2 separate regions of the Homo sapiens genome follow, and region 2 is linked to region 1. Evidence: promoter capture Hi-C in human tissues and cell types (Jung and others, 2019). All regions are on one chromosome and are shown on one strand. Each heading gives the region's core, a stretch centred on a gene start or on the middle of the fragment in contact. The rest is flanking DNA. Distances are from core to core; before and after follow the strand shown.

Region 1 (6,730 bases), core at 3,617-6,116:
AGACAGATTCTCGCTCTGTGGCTCAGGCTGGAGTGCAGTGGTGCCATCTCGGCTCATTGCAAGCTCCGCCTCCCGGGTTCACGCCATTCTCCTGCCTCAGCCTCCCGAGTAGCTGGGACTACAGGCGTGTGCCACCACGCCCGGCTAATTTTTGTATTTTTAGTAGAAACGGGGTTTCACCTTATTGGCCAGGGTGGTCCCGAACGCCTGACCTCAAGTGATCCACCCCCCTTCGCCTTCCTAAGTGCTGGGATCACAGGCATGAGCCACCGCCCGCCCGCCTGCCTGAGCTGTTCTTATTGTAACTGTCTATCTCAATCATGCCCCATCCCAGCCACGTGGCCTTTGGTAGACTGTCTCCAAGTCTCCATTCTGCAGGTTTTTTTCCCTTTAAATTATAGGCACAATAATACCATCCTCCTGGGTTTGGTGAGTATCAAATGATTTACATGAGGCATGTAGGACGTGGCCTGGCACAGGGTTTGGCCTTAATCAAGGGTATCTGTTATATGTATATTTCATAGATAACATTGTTCCATTTATTGTTATTAATTTCAGCCTCAACCCGGTGTGGTGGCTCACGCCTGTAATCCCAGCACTTTGGGAGGCAGGCAGATCAAAAGGTCAAGAGATCCAGACCATCCTGGCCAACATGGTGAAACCCCCGTCTCTACCAAAAATACAAAAAAATTAGCTGGGCACGGTGGCGTGCGCCTGTAGTTCCAGTTACTCGAGAGGTTGAGAATCACTTGAACCCAGGAGGTAGAGGTTGCAGTGAGCCGAGATCGTGCCACTGCACTCCAGCCTAGGGACGGAGTGAGACTTCGTCTCAAAAAAAAAGAAAAAAAAAATCAGCCTCAAGGGCAAGGCTGCGGGAAGGCCTGCTTGACCCACCTATAACTCTGTTATGGAGGAAGGTCATGGCTGACCGTTAGTATGCACATAGTTATATGTCTGCATCCATTCATCTGACCACATCTGTATGTCTGTGTAGATGCAGAGGGAATGCTTTTCATCAGCCTCCAAAGAGCCAAGCAGTTGGGAGGTGTCAGGACAGTGCCTGGCTACATGCCTTGGGACCTAGTCATCTAACAGTTGTCTGCTCAGGAACCCCTGCTCTCTGCTGGCTGCTGGGCCAGGCAAAGGCATAACCCAGCTCTGCCCACCTGCCTGAAATCTCAGCATCTTCACTCGAGGGCCACTGGAGCCTGTTCTGAGGCACCACAGTGTCCCCTGCAGGGCCTACCAGGGAATCTCACACACAGTAAGGTGCTCAAGTATTTGCTCTTGAATGTGAAAGTCTGTAACTGTGTTTGTCTCTGCTTTTGCTCACATTTGAGAGAATGAATTCCATACTTTTATTTATTTGTATCTTGTGAGAAGTCATGTGTATATTTGGCCTGATTGGTTGAACGTTCTGAGGTTGGTAAATGTGTTTCACTGTTTTTGTTTGTTTGTTTGTTTTTTGAGACAGGGTCTTGCTCTGTCACCCAGGCTGGAGTGCAGTGGCACGATCTTGGCTCACTGCAGCCTCAACCTCCCAGGCTCAAGCAATCCTCCCACCTCAGCCTCCCGAGTAGCTGGAACCACAGGCATGCACCACCACGCCCAGCTAATTTTTGTAATTTTTGTAGAGACAGGGTTTCACCATGTTACCAAGGCTGGTCTCAAACTCCTGGGCTCAAGCGATCCTCCTGCCTCAGCCTCCCAAAGCACTGGGATTATAGGCATGAGCCACCATGCTTGGCCATGTGTTCCATTTCTAGTTCCTACCCTGATCCATCAGGAGTATCTACCTAGAGTACTGTGTGAGGAATGGTTCTGAGGCTCAGTGGGGAAATATGATCCATTAGTTTTGTCTGCTGTGGGTATGAGATGAGGAAGAATGATATGTTTGTGATGTATTTACTCTCCCTGGTCTTTAAACTCATGGGCAGTGCCATTCACCCTTCACCCCTGCTTAAGCCTGGAGGAATTTTAACCTGGAGGAACTGTTTCTGTCTTCTTTTCCTCCTCTGTTAAAACTATGGTGTCTAGGCCCAGGTAGGTTCCAATTCCTAGGCTCTTCTCTTACCTCCATCCCTTAGTTTTCTCCCAATATTCAACATATAGTAAAACCTAATAAAAGTTAGAGTAAGAAATGGACAAATGATGGTGGGATGGGTAAAATGATGGAAGACTGGGTGGGTGGGTTGATGGGTGGATGGACTGATGGGTGAGTTAATGAAAGGGTCTGAATAGAACTGAACTATGAATGTATGGGTAGATGGACAGATGCGTGGCTGGATGATTATGTAGATGGGTATGTAGGTTTGTGGATGGCTTTATGACTAGATTAGCGATGGACAGTGTCCTGGGTTTACAAGTGGATGGAAGGATTTGTAGATGGTTGGTCATTGGATCAATGGATGGATGGATAGAAGTGTGGGAGTTTTATTTTTTATTTATTTTATTTTATTTTATTTCATTTTTATTTGAGATGGAGTCTCACTCTGTCACCCAGGCTGGAGTGCAATGGCACAATCTCAGCTCACTGCAAGCTCCGCCTCCCGGGTTCACACCATTCTCTCGCCTCAGCCTCCCGAGTAGCTGGGACTACAGGCGCCCGCCACCACGCCCGGCTAATTTTTTGTGTTTTTTTTTTTTTTTTTGTATATTTTTAGTAGAGACGGGGTTTCACCGTGTTATCCAGGGTGGTCTCAATCTCCTAACCTCGTGATCCGCCCACCTCAGCCTCCCAAAGTGCTGGGATTACAGGTGTGAGCCACCGTGCCCTGCCGAAGTGTGGGAGTTTTAGATGGATGACTGGCTAGCTGGTTGGCCAGGTAGATGAATGGATCCACAGGACACCTGATTCATGGGTGGGTGGGTGAGTGAATGTATGGATGGATGGAGTCATGGGTCCATGATAGATTAATGGGTGGACAGAAGGATGGATGGATAGATGGAGAGATTCATGAACGGGTTGTAGAAGACTTGGTTCATGGATGAGATGGATGCAAAGATGGATGGGTGAATGGGAAAATGAATATATGAATAGATTCATGGATGAATTATGTGTTGGTAGAAGACCTCATTAATGGATGGGTTGATTCATTGATGAACTGGCGAATGAATCTTGAATGGGTTGGTAGAAGATCTGATTCACGGACAGCCATATGTAAGGATGGATGAATGGGTAGATAGGTGGATAAATGAATACATTCATGGGCGAAAGAGGAAAGAAAGAAGGAAAGAAATGCCCCTTTCCTCCACTACCCTACCCTTATCCCGCCCATCACTCACTGGTTGGCCTTTCTGACAGTGGTGAATTGTGAGTGATCACCCTTCAGGGGCCCCAGAATAGGTGTCTGCTGGAGCGAAATCTTCGTAAGACTATCCTGGAGGTGCGATGACTGGCCCCTTAAAGACAAACAGGCCACATCTGGCATGAGTGGCCAGGCTGTCCCGCCCTGGAAACATCGATGGCAACCCCGTCCCCACCAAGAAGCGGACTGACGCTTACCACAGGTCTGGGAGGAATGAACAGTTGGGACACCGCGGAGACCCTGGGCAGTGCTCTAATACACCCCTTTGATGTTGCGGTGCTGGGGATGCTGGAGCCAGGAGGAAACAGTTGTGAGCCTTGGCTGGGGGACGGTCCTTTCTAGTCATGTGGCCTCGGGGTGATGGCAGACCAGCCCTCAAGGACGGGTTGCGAGGGCTCTGAGATACTCAGCTAACATTAGCATCCTTCTAGCCTGGGTGGTGGGGTGGTGGGTGCGGGGACACAAGGGACCACCCCCCACCGGAAATGACTCGGGCCCGCCCCCCGGGCCCCGCGGGGCCTCACTCAGTGGCTCCGGCTCCTCGGCGCACTTCTCCTGGAGCTGGTGCAGGAACTCACGGAACCTGCTGGGGAGGAGCTCTCCTAGGAAGGCGCCCAAGAAGTCGGGGTCCTCCCTGGCCACGCGCCTCCGGGGGCGCTCGCGCTCTCCAGGCCCTGGCTGCCTGGGCGCCGATTCCCGGGACGCGCCGGCCGACAGCAGGGGAGGCGGCAGCAGGGACCGCAGCAGCCCCCGCTTCCGCACGGCCCGCCGGGTCGCGGTGAGCAAGGCGGGCAGGCGCGGCGGGAGGCGTCCGACGCCCACCCCGGGCTTGGCGTCCCCTTCCGGCCACCACGCGGCGCCGCCCCCCGGGATCCTCCAGTCCCCGGAGCCCCGCGCGCCCAGAGCCGCTCGGAGCGCGGGCGGGGTCAGCTTGGGCAGCCGCGGGTCGCTGCTGCGTCGGAAGTCTCCGTCGCCAGGGAGCCCCTTGGGCGCCAGGTCCTGGGCCCCTGGGCGAAGTCGACGCCAGAACATGCTTGGCCCCGCACTCAGCTCACCGCACCCTCAGCGCGCGTGGGTGGGGGGCGCCGGCTGAGGTGGGGAGGGCATAGTCCAGCCCCAGGCCATAGTGCCCCGGGCGGGGCAGCGCGGTGCGGGGTGAACGCCACCGGCCCGGCGGACAGCGAGTGGCTTCAGGCGAGAGCTCCCAGAGCCTCTGTTTCCTCACCTGAAAAATGGTGACAGCAAGAGTAGCCAACTTTGGGGGTTGCTGTGACGTTTAAATGAGCAAGTACATGCCAGTCTTAGAACAGCAAGCTCGGTACAGTGCCAGGCACGCTGGCCAAGCTTACACATAGACTAGCTGCCATTCTTAGTATTTCAAAGTTATTATTATTTAGGATTTAGTCCCAGCTCCACCACTTATTAGCTTTGTAACCTTGGCCAAGCCAATTAACTTCCCTCTGCCTTCCCTGGGGGCTCTGGTCTGCAGAATGGGGATAATAGCAGCACCTGCCTCTCTGCAGCCGTGAAACGGCATCACCGCATCACCGCTGGTAGAGAGAGCACTTAGCCTGCCTTGCAGTGTTCAAAGCGTGGAACTGTTACCGTCATTAGCGCTCTACTGGGAATTAGGAAACCTGGAACCAGCTTGAGGGAAGAGAGACCTGACCAGCAGCCTCCCAGCCCTGGTGCTGCCTCAGAGACCCCTGGGTGGGGAGCCTGTTGAAAATACAGATGACTTACCCCCAGCCCCCATTCTGATTCAGTACGTCTCTGCTGGAGCCAAGACAGTTTGTTGTTCTTGTTGTTGTTGTTAAAGAGATGGGGTCTTGCTAAGACGGGGTCCTGCTGTCACCCAGGCTGGAGTGCAATGGCACCATCATAGCTCACTGCAGCCTCAAATTCTTGGGCTCAAGTGATCCTCCTGCCTCAGCCTCCTGAGTAGCTGGGACTACAGGCACACACCACCACAGTTGGCTAATTTTTGTATATTTTGTAGAAATGGGGTAGAATTTTTTTGTATTTATGTTGCACGGGCTGGTCTTGAACTCCTGGGCTCAAGTGATCCACTTGCCTTGGCCTCCCAAAGTGCTGGGATCACAGGCGTGAGTCCCCACTTCTGGCCAAGACACAGACTTTTAACAAACTCCCCCTTTGGGAGGCAGAGCCCCAGTCTTACTCCCAGCTCTGACACTGAGGGGTTTCTAAGCCTGCTTCCTCCCAACCACACCCCACTCCCAGATTGTTGTCAGCTCTGAGCTGACTCCTGGGCAGTGTCACACTCACCCTGGTGGGCTTCTGGGTGGGGCCCTAGAAGGTCCTGTGAGTTTAGAGCTCTCTACAGGCAGGCTGTAGAGCCCATCATCCCTGCCTGGTGCCTCTCCCAGCCCCTCCCGGCTGCCTCTGGGCCGCTTCAGGGTCATTGTGATCCGCCCCTCACCCCTGGGCATCTGAGTAGCAGTGGGCACTGAGGCCTGGGGACTAAGGGTGGGGCTATTGTGCCCTGGATGCCCTGGCCGCAGCCACCTGGGGCACTGGGACTCTGACCAGGGCAGCCAGGCCTACCCTTTCCAGATCTGGGAGGCTTAGGCTGGGTGGCTCTGGAAGTAGAACTTCCACCCCAAGACCAGGCAGTCAGAATACAATGGACCTAGAAATGAACAGACCCTGCGGGGCACGGTGTCTCACGCCTGTAATCCCAGCACTTTGGGAGGCCGAGGCGGGCGGATCACCTGAGGTCAGAAGTTCAATACCAGCCTGGCCAACATGGTGAAACCTCGTCTCTACAAAAAATACCAAAATTTGCCATGCATGGTGTTGTGCACCTATAATCCCAGCTACTTGGGAGGCTGAGACAGGAGAATCGCTTGACCCTGGGAGGCGGAGGTTGCAGTGAGCTGAGATCATGCCACTGCACTCCAGCCTGGGTGACAAAGCGAGACTCCATCTCAAAAATAATAATAATAATAATCCAAGGTCTGGGTGCTAGGTGTGCTTCTTGCTATTGAGATGTCATTTCTTTCAGGCAGTCTCAGCTGACAAAGAAATGTGTGTGTATACTATGAAACACACACATATCTATAAATATTTCTATAGGTAACCATCTGTACTTATATTAAGCTAAACATGAGCTCATGCTGACATCTCCAACTCTAATCCGTTACACAGATCATTTGAGACTCTGTCTCACAAAAAAAAAAGAGGCCAGGTTCCAGTGGCTCATACCTGTAATCCTAACACTTTGGGAGACCGAGGCAGGTGGATTGCCTGAGCTCAGGAGTTCGCAATCAGCCTGGGCCACATGGTGAAACCCCGTCTCTACTAAAATACAAAAAAATTAGCCGGGCGTGACAGCGTGTGCCTGTAGTCCCAGCTACTTGGGGGGCTGAGGTAGGAGAATTGCTTGAACCCGGGAGGCGGAG
Region 2 (6,947 bases), core at 2,308-4,807, 170 kb before region 1:
AAAATCCTGCTCTTTTGCATAATAAGTGGGCAAAACAGACACAGTCCCTGCCCCTCTGGCAGTTTGTCGCTTCTGCAAGACTCAAGTGCCAAATGACATTTTAGAAAAAATTTCTGACATATTTGTGCTTGGAACACACAATATGATCTTGGAGCAGATAAGAGTTTTAAATTTAACTTTGTCTGTCCCCAGAAATGTATTGTTTGAGAAGTCTAATTGTGAATTTTAAGCTTTCTTTCTTCTTCTTCTTCTTCCTTTTCTTTTCTTTTCTTTTTTTTTTTTTTTGAGACAGGGTCTTACTCTGTCACCCAGGCTGGAATGCAGTGACGATCCCAGCTCACTGCAGCCTTGACCTCCTGGGCTTAAGCAATCCTCCTTCCTCAGCCTCCTGAGTAGCTGGGACCACAGGCATGTGCCACCATGCCCAGCTAATTATGAATTTTAAACTTTCTGTGAAGACTCTTTAAAATGGATACTCTACAAATAGTCAATAAAGAATATTCTGGGCTTAAGAAAATAATAATAATAAAACTAAGAAACACTCTGTGTGATAGAGCCCAGTTAAGACTCAGTCTCAGGGTAAAGATCATACCAAGGGTGTGGCCATCACGCCCTTTGTTGAAACCTCAGAAAAGCTTGCAGGCCCACAGTTCTGTCTAGAAAGCCATGTCTAGAAGAAAGTTAGGTGTGTCTTTTTTTTTTTTTTTGAGACAGAGTTTCGCTCTGTCGCCCAGGCTGGAGTGCAATGGTGCGATCTCAGCTCACGGCAACCTCCGCCTCCCGGGTTCAAGTGATTCTCCTGCCTCAGCCTCCCGAGTAGCTGGGGTTACAGGCATGCGCCACCATGCCCGGCTAATTTTGTATTTTTAGTAGAGACAGGGTTTCTCCATGTTGGCCAGGCTGGTCCTGAACTCCCAACCTCAGGTGATCCTTCCACCTTGGCCTCCCAAAGTGCTGGAATTACAGGCGTGAGCCACCGCACCCGGCCTTGGGTGTATCTTTGGCAAAAAGAGCTGAGTGACAACAATTGGGCAAAAGTTACAAAGTTTTAAAGAGGGTGGCACTGTCCGCAGAGCTGTCAGCTGGATTAAAAGAGACTGTGACCGTCAACAACACAAAACCACTTCTGGGCGCCAACGGGGAAGCAGCCCGAGGAAGCTGCTCAGCCCCCAGGGAAACCCTCTTCTCCAGGGTCCTCATCCCGTGTGGTCAAGGAGGTTATAGAAAAGGAGGCCTCCCAGAGGACGGCCCAAGGGCAGGAGAACAGGGGAGTCGGGAGTAATTTCCAGAGAGCACCATGGGGCCTGGTCGAGGGGTTTCTTTCCCCAGGGCAGGTGGCACTTGCCGAATCCACCCAGCAGGACTCAGAACTCATGAGGACCAGCACTTGCTACTGCTCCACCCCTCTCCTTTCTTTTTTTTAAATTTTGTTTTTGTTGTTGTTGTTGCTTGTTTGTTTGTTTGACACGGAGTCTCACTCTGTCACCCAGGCTAGAGGGCAGTGGCACAGTCTCGGCTCACTGCAGCCTCTGCCTCCTGGGTTCAAGCGATTCTCCTGCCTCAGCCTCCTGAGTAGCTGGGATTACAGGTGCCCACCACCACGCCCAGCTAATTTTTGTATTTTTAGTAGAGATGGGGTTTCACCATGTTGGCCAGGCTGGTCTTGAACTCCTGACCTCAGGTGATCCACCCGCCTCAGCCTCCCAAAGTGCTGGGATTACAGGTGTGAACCACCACGCCCGGCCCTTTTTTAACTTTTAAGACAGAGTTTTGCTCTGTCGCCCAGGCTGGAATACAGTGGTGTGATGACAGTTCATTGCAGCTTCAACCTCCCAGCTCAGGTGATCCTCCTGCCTCAGCCTCCTGAGTAGCTGGGACTACAGGCATGAACCACCATGCCTGGCTAATTTTTGTATTGTTTTGTAGAGACGGGGTCTTGCTATGTTGCCCAGGCTGGTCTTAAACTCCTGGGCTCAAGCGACCCCCGCACCTTGGCCTCCCCAAATGCTGGGGTTACAGGTGTGAGCCACCACACCGCCTCTATTCTTCTCTTCTCTTCTCTCCTCTTCTCTTTCCTTCCTTCCTTCCTTCCTTCCTTCCTTCCTTCCTTCCTTCCTTCCTTCCTTCCTTCCTCCTTCCTTCCTTCCTTTCTCTTTTCTCTCTCTCTCTCTTTCTTTCTTTTTTCTTTGCTCTCACTGTATCACCCAGGCTGGAGTGCAGTGGTGCAATCTTGGCTCACTGCAGCCTCCACTTCCTGAGTTCAAGCAATTCTCATGCCTCAGCCTCCCAAGTAGCTGGGATTACAGGTGCATGCAACCATGCCTGGCTAATTTTTGTATTTTTAGTAGAGATGGGTTTCGCCATGTTGTCCAGGCTGGTCTTGAACTCCTGGCCTCAAGTGATCCGCCCACCTCAGCCTCCCAAAGTGCTGGGACTACAGGCGTGAGCCATTGCGCCCAGTCTTGTTCTTCTCCTTTCCAACGGAGAGCGTTTGTGGGTCATCCTATTCCACCATTGTATGTTGAGTGTATTACTTTGCCGGGGCCACCATAACGAGATACCACATACTGGGTGTCTTGAATAATAAAAATGTATTTTCTCACAGCTTTGGGGGCTGGAAGTCCAAGATCAAGGTGCCAGCAGGGCTGGTTTCTTCCAAGGCCCTCCCTCCCTGGCTCGCCTGTGTCCTCAGGTGGCCTCCTGCCTGTGCACACCTGCCTGACGCCTCAGTCTGTGAGTCCACATTTCCTTCTTATAAGGACACTAGACACATTGGATTAAGGCCCACCCTGACGACTTCATTTTAATTGAATTGCCACTTTAAAGATTTTATCTCCAGCCAGGCACAGTGGCCCACGCCTGTAATCCCAGCACTTTGGGAGGCCAAGGAAGGCAGATCCTTTGAGGTCAGAAGTTCCAGACCAGCCTGGCCAACATGGTGAAACCCCCTCTCCACTAAAAATACAAAAAAACTAGCCCACGCTAAAAAATTACAAAAAATTTGAAGATCATTTGAGGTCAGAAGTTCAAGACCAACCTGGCCAACATGGTGAAACCCGGTCTCTACTAAAATACAAAAATAGTAGTCCAAGCTAAAAAATTAGCATGCAACACCACGCCTCTCATCCCAGCTACTCGGGAGGCTGAGGCACAAGAATCTCTTGAACCCGGGAAACAGAGGTTGCAGCAAGCTGAGATCGCATCACCGCACTCCAGCCTGAGCAACGACAGAGTGAGACTCTGTCTCAAAAAAAAAAAAAAAAAAAGATATTATCTCCAAATACATTACTTTGTAAAGTACTGAAGGTGGGGGCTTCAACATATGAATTTGGGTGGGGAGACAATTCAACTCATAACAGTGTGTGAGATCAGAAAATTCCTCCTGCTCCCCCCGCCACCCCATTTACAGGTCTCCTATAGAGAGAAGCGTTGACTGGGGACACTCGCTGCTTGCGTTTTGCTGGTAGCTGGGCTGGAAGGTCCACAAAGGTTCACTTCATGTGAGTGGCACCTCAGGGCTCTTCCACAGGCCCTTCTCTCCATGCAGCTCTCTTGGGCTTCCTCACAGCATGGCGGGGTTTTTCACGGTGGCTGGCTTCCAAGAGGAAGCACTTCAAGCTGGGTGAGAGCAGATGCCTCAAATCTCTGCAGCCTCAGCCTCGGAAGTCACACAGCGTCGCTTCTGCTGCATCCTGTTGATGAAAGCCAGTCCTGGAGTCAGCCCAGATCCAAGGGGAGGAGGAAAAGACTCCAGGTCTTGCTGAGAGTAATGACTAAGAATCTGCAGCCATCTCCAATCCACCACGCCCATGCAAGAGACGGGAGTGATATTTGCAACCAAGATGGTGAACGGCAGCAGATTGGTCACTGTTTCCAGTTATTCACCATCCCCTCAGTGAGAGGATTATCCATCCTGCCCCATTGCTACGTGACATGCAGAGCATCCAGTGCTGGGTACACTTCCCCTCCCCACCAAATCATGTTTGGCCACGTGACTTGCGTTAGCCAGTGAATCCGGAGCCCAAGTCCTAGCAGGCCATTCAAAAGAGAAGCTTCAAGAGCCATCACGTGGGTTGGCCAGCCTGCCTGCACTTTTCCCTTTAAACAGAGCTGCGTTTTCTAGAGAGAGGCCTCACACAAGCCTCCCTGTTCCACAGAATACAAATCCAATTGGTAAGTCTTCTATCCATCTTAAGAAACCTTTACATTTTTAAATCTCTCCATTCTCAAATATTCAAAGCCCTTAAATTCATTTATTTTTCTAGAAGTAACACCTGACAAGTTTGATATGTCAAGGCACCACCCGTTCCTTCTTAATCCACAGGAACTCATTGAGGGTAGGGAACCTGGGAGGTCACCACAGCCTGTAAATCCAAGCCTGGATGTAGTGAGTGTCTGGGGTGGCCAGGCTTTCTGCAGGTATGTGCACATTGAAGGCCAAATCTCAGCTTTGAACTGAGTCCCGAGCTTAGGACTCCTCCTGACTCTCTTCTGGGAACACTGTGGCTCAGAGAGGTTAAGTGAGTTGCCCAAGGCCACTCAGGTAGTAAGTGGCAGGGCCAAGACTGGACCCCAGGGCCATCTTGCTCCAAAGTTCCTAACCACTAGACTCTCCAGCTCTCACCCTGTACGTGGGCTATAGATATTTGGTTTTATTTTATTTTTTAATTTTATTTTGAGACAGGGTCTCTCTCTGTCATCCAGGCTGGAGTGCAGCGGCACAATCATGGCTCACTGCAGCCTCGACCTCCCTGGGCTCAGGTGATCCTCCTACCTCAGCCTCCCGAGTAGCTGGGACCACAGGTGCACGCTACCACATCCGGCTAATTTTTGCTTTTTTTTTTTTTTTTTTTTTTTGAGACGGAGTCTCGCTCTGTCGCCCAGGCTGGAGTGCAAAGGCACAATCTCAGCTCACTGCAAACTTTGCCTCCGGGGTTTAAGCTATTCTCCTGTCTCAGCCTCCTGAGTAGCTGGGATTACAGGCATGCACCACCACACTCAGCTAATTTTGTATTTTTAGTAGAGACAGAGTTTCTCCATATTGGTCAGGCTGGTCTCGAACTTCTGACCTCAGGTGATTTGCCCTCCTCAGCATCCCAAAGTGCTGGGATTACAGGCGTGAGCCACCGTGCCCAGCCATTTTTGCATTTTTTTTTTTTTTGTAGTAATGAGCTTTTGCCATCTTGCCTAGGCTGGTCTCAAACTGCTAGGCTTAATCGACCTGCCCACCTCAGCCTCCCAAATGCTGGGATTGCAGGCGTGAGCCATGGTGCTGGCCCTAGATATTTGTTAAGTGGATGAATAAACTACCCAGTAGTTCCTTTGGAAACCTGAAAGGTTTTGGATGCAGTGATAGAGGTGTTCCAATCTCAAGGATTGGCTAAAAGCTATAGGAACTTGGGGTGGGGTAGGATACACTGAATGGGGTCCACTCTCTCCCCAACAATTCCTCCTCTGCCCTCAGAGGAGAATCTGGTGTTTGTAATGCAGAATCTGGAGAATGTGTCAAAATGATAGTGACACTGACATTTACTGAGCGATTGCAATGCCCAGCCCCCAGCCTCAGAGCCCTCCCTAATTTTACTCCTTTACACTTTCTCAGGGATGTGGTGAGGTTACAGACCATCATTATTCCCATTTCACTAGTGAGAAAACTGAGGCACACAGTAGGCTGAATCCGTGCTTCCCAAACTATCTGTGATGAAGGAACTTCGAGAAAAAATGTTCCAATCTGTCAGGAATGATATTTTTATAATATACACAGTCACAATGGGATGTAGGCAGTGTCAAATTGCTATGAAAGTTGCTAAATGCTTATCCTCAGTTCTATAGTTAGCGTGTCGTGTCCACAAACAGTGTGTGGCCCAGCACTGATCCTCGGACCGCGCCTTGGGTAGCGCGGGGTCAAGTCACAGCGTGTGACTCGCGGGGCCAGGATTTGGACCCAGAGGGTCTCGCTCCAGAGCGTGGGCTCTGAACCACTCACCAGAGGGGCATGGATCATGAGGACGGGCGGGGAAGGGTCTGCCCACTGAACACATTACATAACAAATATTCGAGGGAGAAGGGGAGAATGCAGGCTGGTGTCAGGACTGTCAGGCAGCCTCCAGCATGCGCAAAACAACAGCCAGTCTAATGGAGAGAACCGGAGCAAGGAAACGGGCGCTGGTGAGAGCTGTTGCTGTGGGGTTTGAATTCGGCCCCTTTGAGGCTCTTCGGGAGTCACAAGGACATTCAGAAAGTTCGTTTAAATGACTTGTGACTGCTGGATTATCAGGTCCCAGGAGGCAGCGACTGAACTACATGGAAGCCCAGCTTTTATTTGGGTTACACGGGCACCAGTCTGGGTTTCCACACATCTCTCTCCACTCCCAAATAAGTTATTTATGCTTATTTTATCACTTTTTTTTTTTCTTGAGATGGAGTCTTGTTCTGTCACCCAGGCTGGAGTGCAGTGGTGCCATCTCAGCTCACTCCAACCTCCGCCTCCCGAGTTCAAACGATTCTCCTACCTCAGCCTCCTGGGTAGCTGGGATTACAGGCGCACGCCAACACATCCGGCTAATTTCTGTATTTTTAGTAGAGACAGGATTTCACCATGTTGGCCAGGATGGTCTCGAACTCCTGACCTCATGATCCGCCCACCTCGGCCTACCAAAGTACTGGGATTACAGGCATGAGCCACCGAATCTGGCCATTTTTTTTTCTTTTTTTTTTTGAGATAGGGTCTCACTCTGTCACCCAGGCAGGAGGCCAATGGCACAATCTCAGCTCACTGCAGCCTCGACTTCCCAAGCTCAGGCAATCCTCCCACCTCAGCCTCTTGAGTAGCTGTGACTACAGGCACACAACACCACGCCCAGCTAATTATTTTTGTATTTTTAGTAGAGACAAGTTCTCGCCTTGTTTTCCAGGTTGGTTTCGAACTCCTGGGCTCAAGTGATCCA

Evidence for each region. Contacts are between HindIII fragments. The study calls those that stand out against the background at their distance.
Region 2: a contact is called between a fragment that was not itself captured here and the fragment with the promoter of C9orf50 in region 1, in 1 of the 25 tissues and cell types used here (dorsolateral prefrontal cortex).

Annotation. Positions count from the first base shown.
Region 1 is chr9:129,616,235-129,622,964 of GRCh38, forward strand. C9orf50 (chromosome 9 open reading frame 50) reads right to left here and starts at 4,867. Exons shown (of 7, transcript NM_199350.4): 1 at 3,833-4,867; 2 at 3,506-3,596; 3 at 3,286-3,402. The coding sequence starts at 4,340. It also overlaps a transcript of NTMT1 not described here. RefSeq lists an enhancer at 4,329-4,979. The HindIII fragment of the contact is 8,954 bases long and covers 1-6,415 here.
Region 2 is chr9:129,443,363-129,450,309 of GRCh38, forward strand. LOC105376291 (a long non-coding RNA gene) reads left to right here. Exons shown (of 3, transcript NR_188645.1): 3 at 3,410-4,189. Among named protein-coding and RNA genes, the nearest start is that of LINC00963, 42 kb to the right of the region's middle. The HindIII fragment of the contact is 6,251 bases long and covers 433-6,683 here.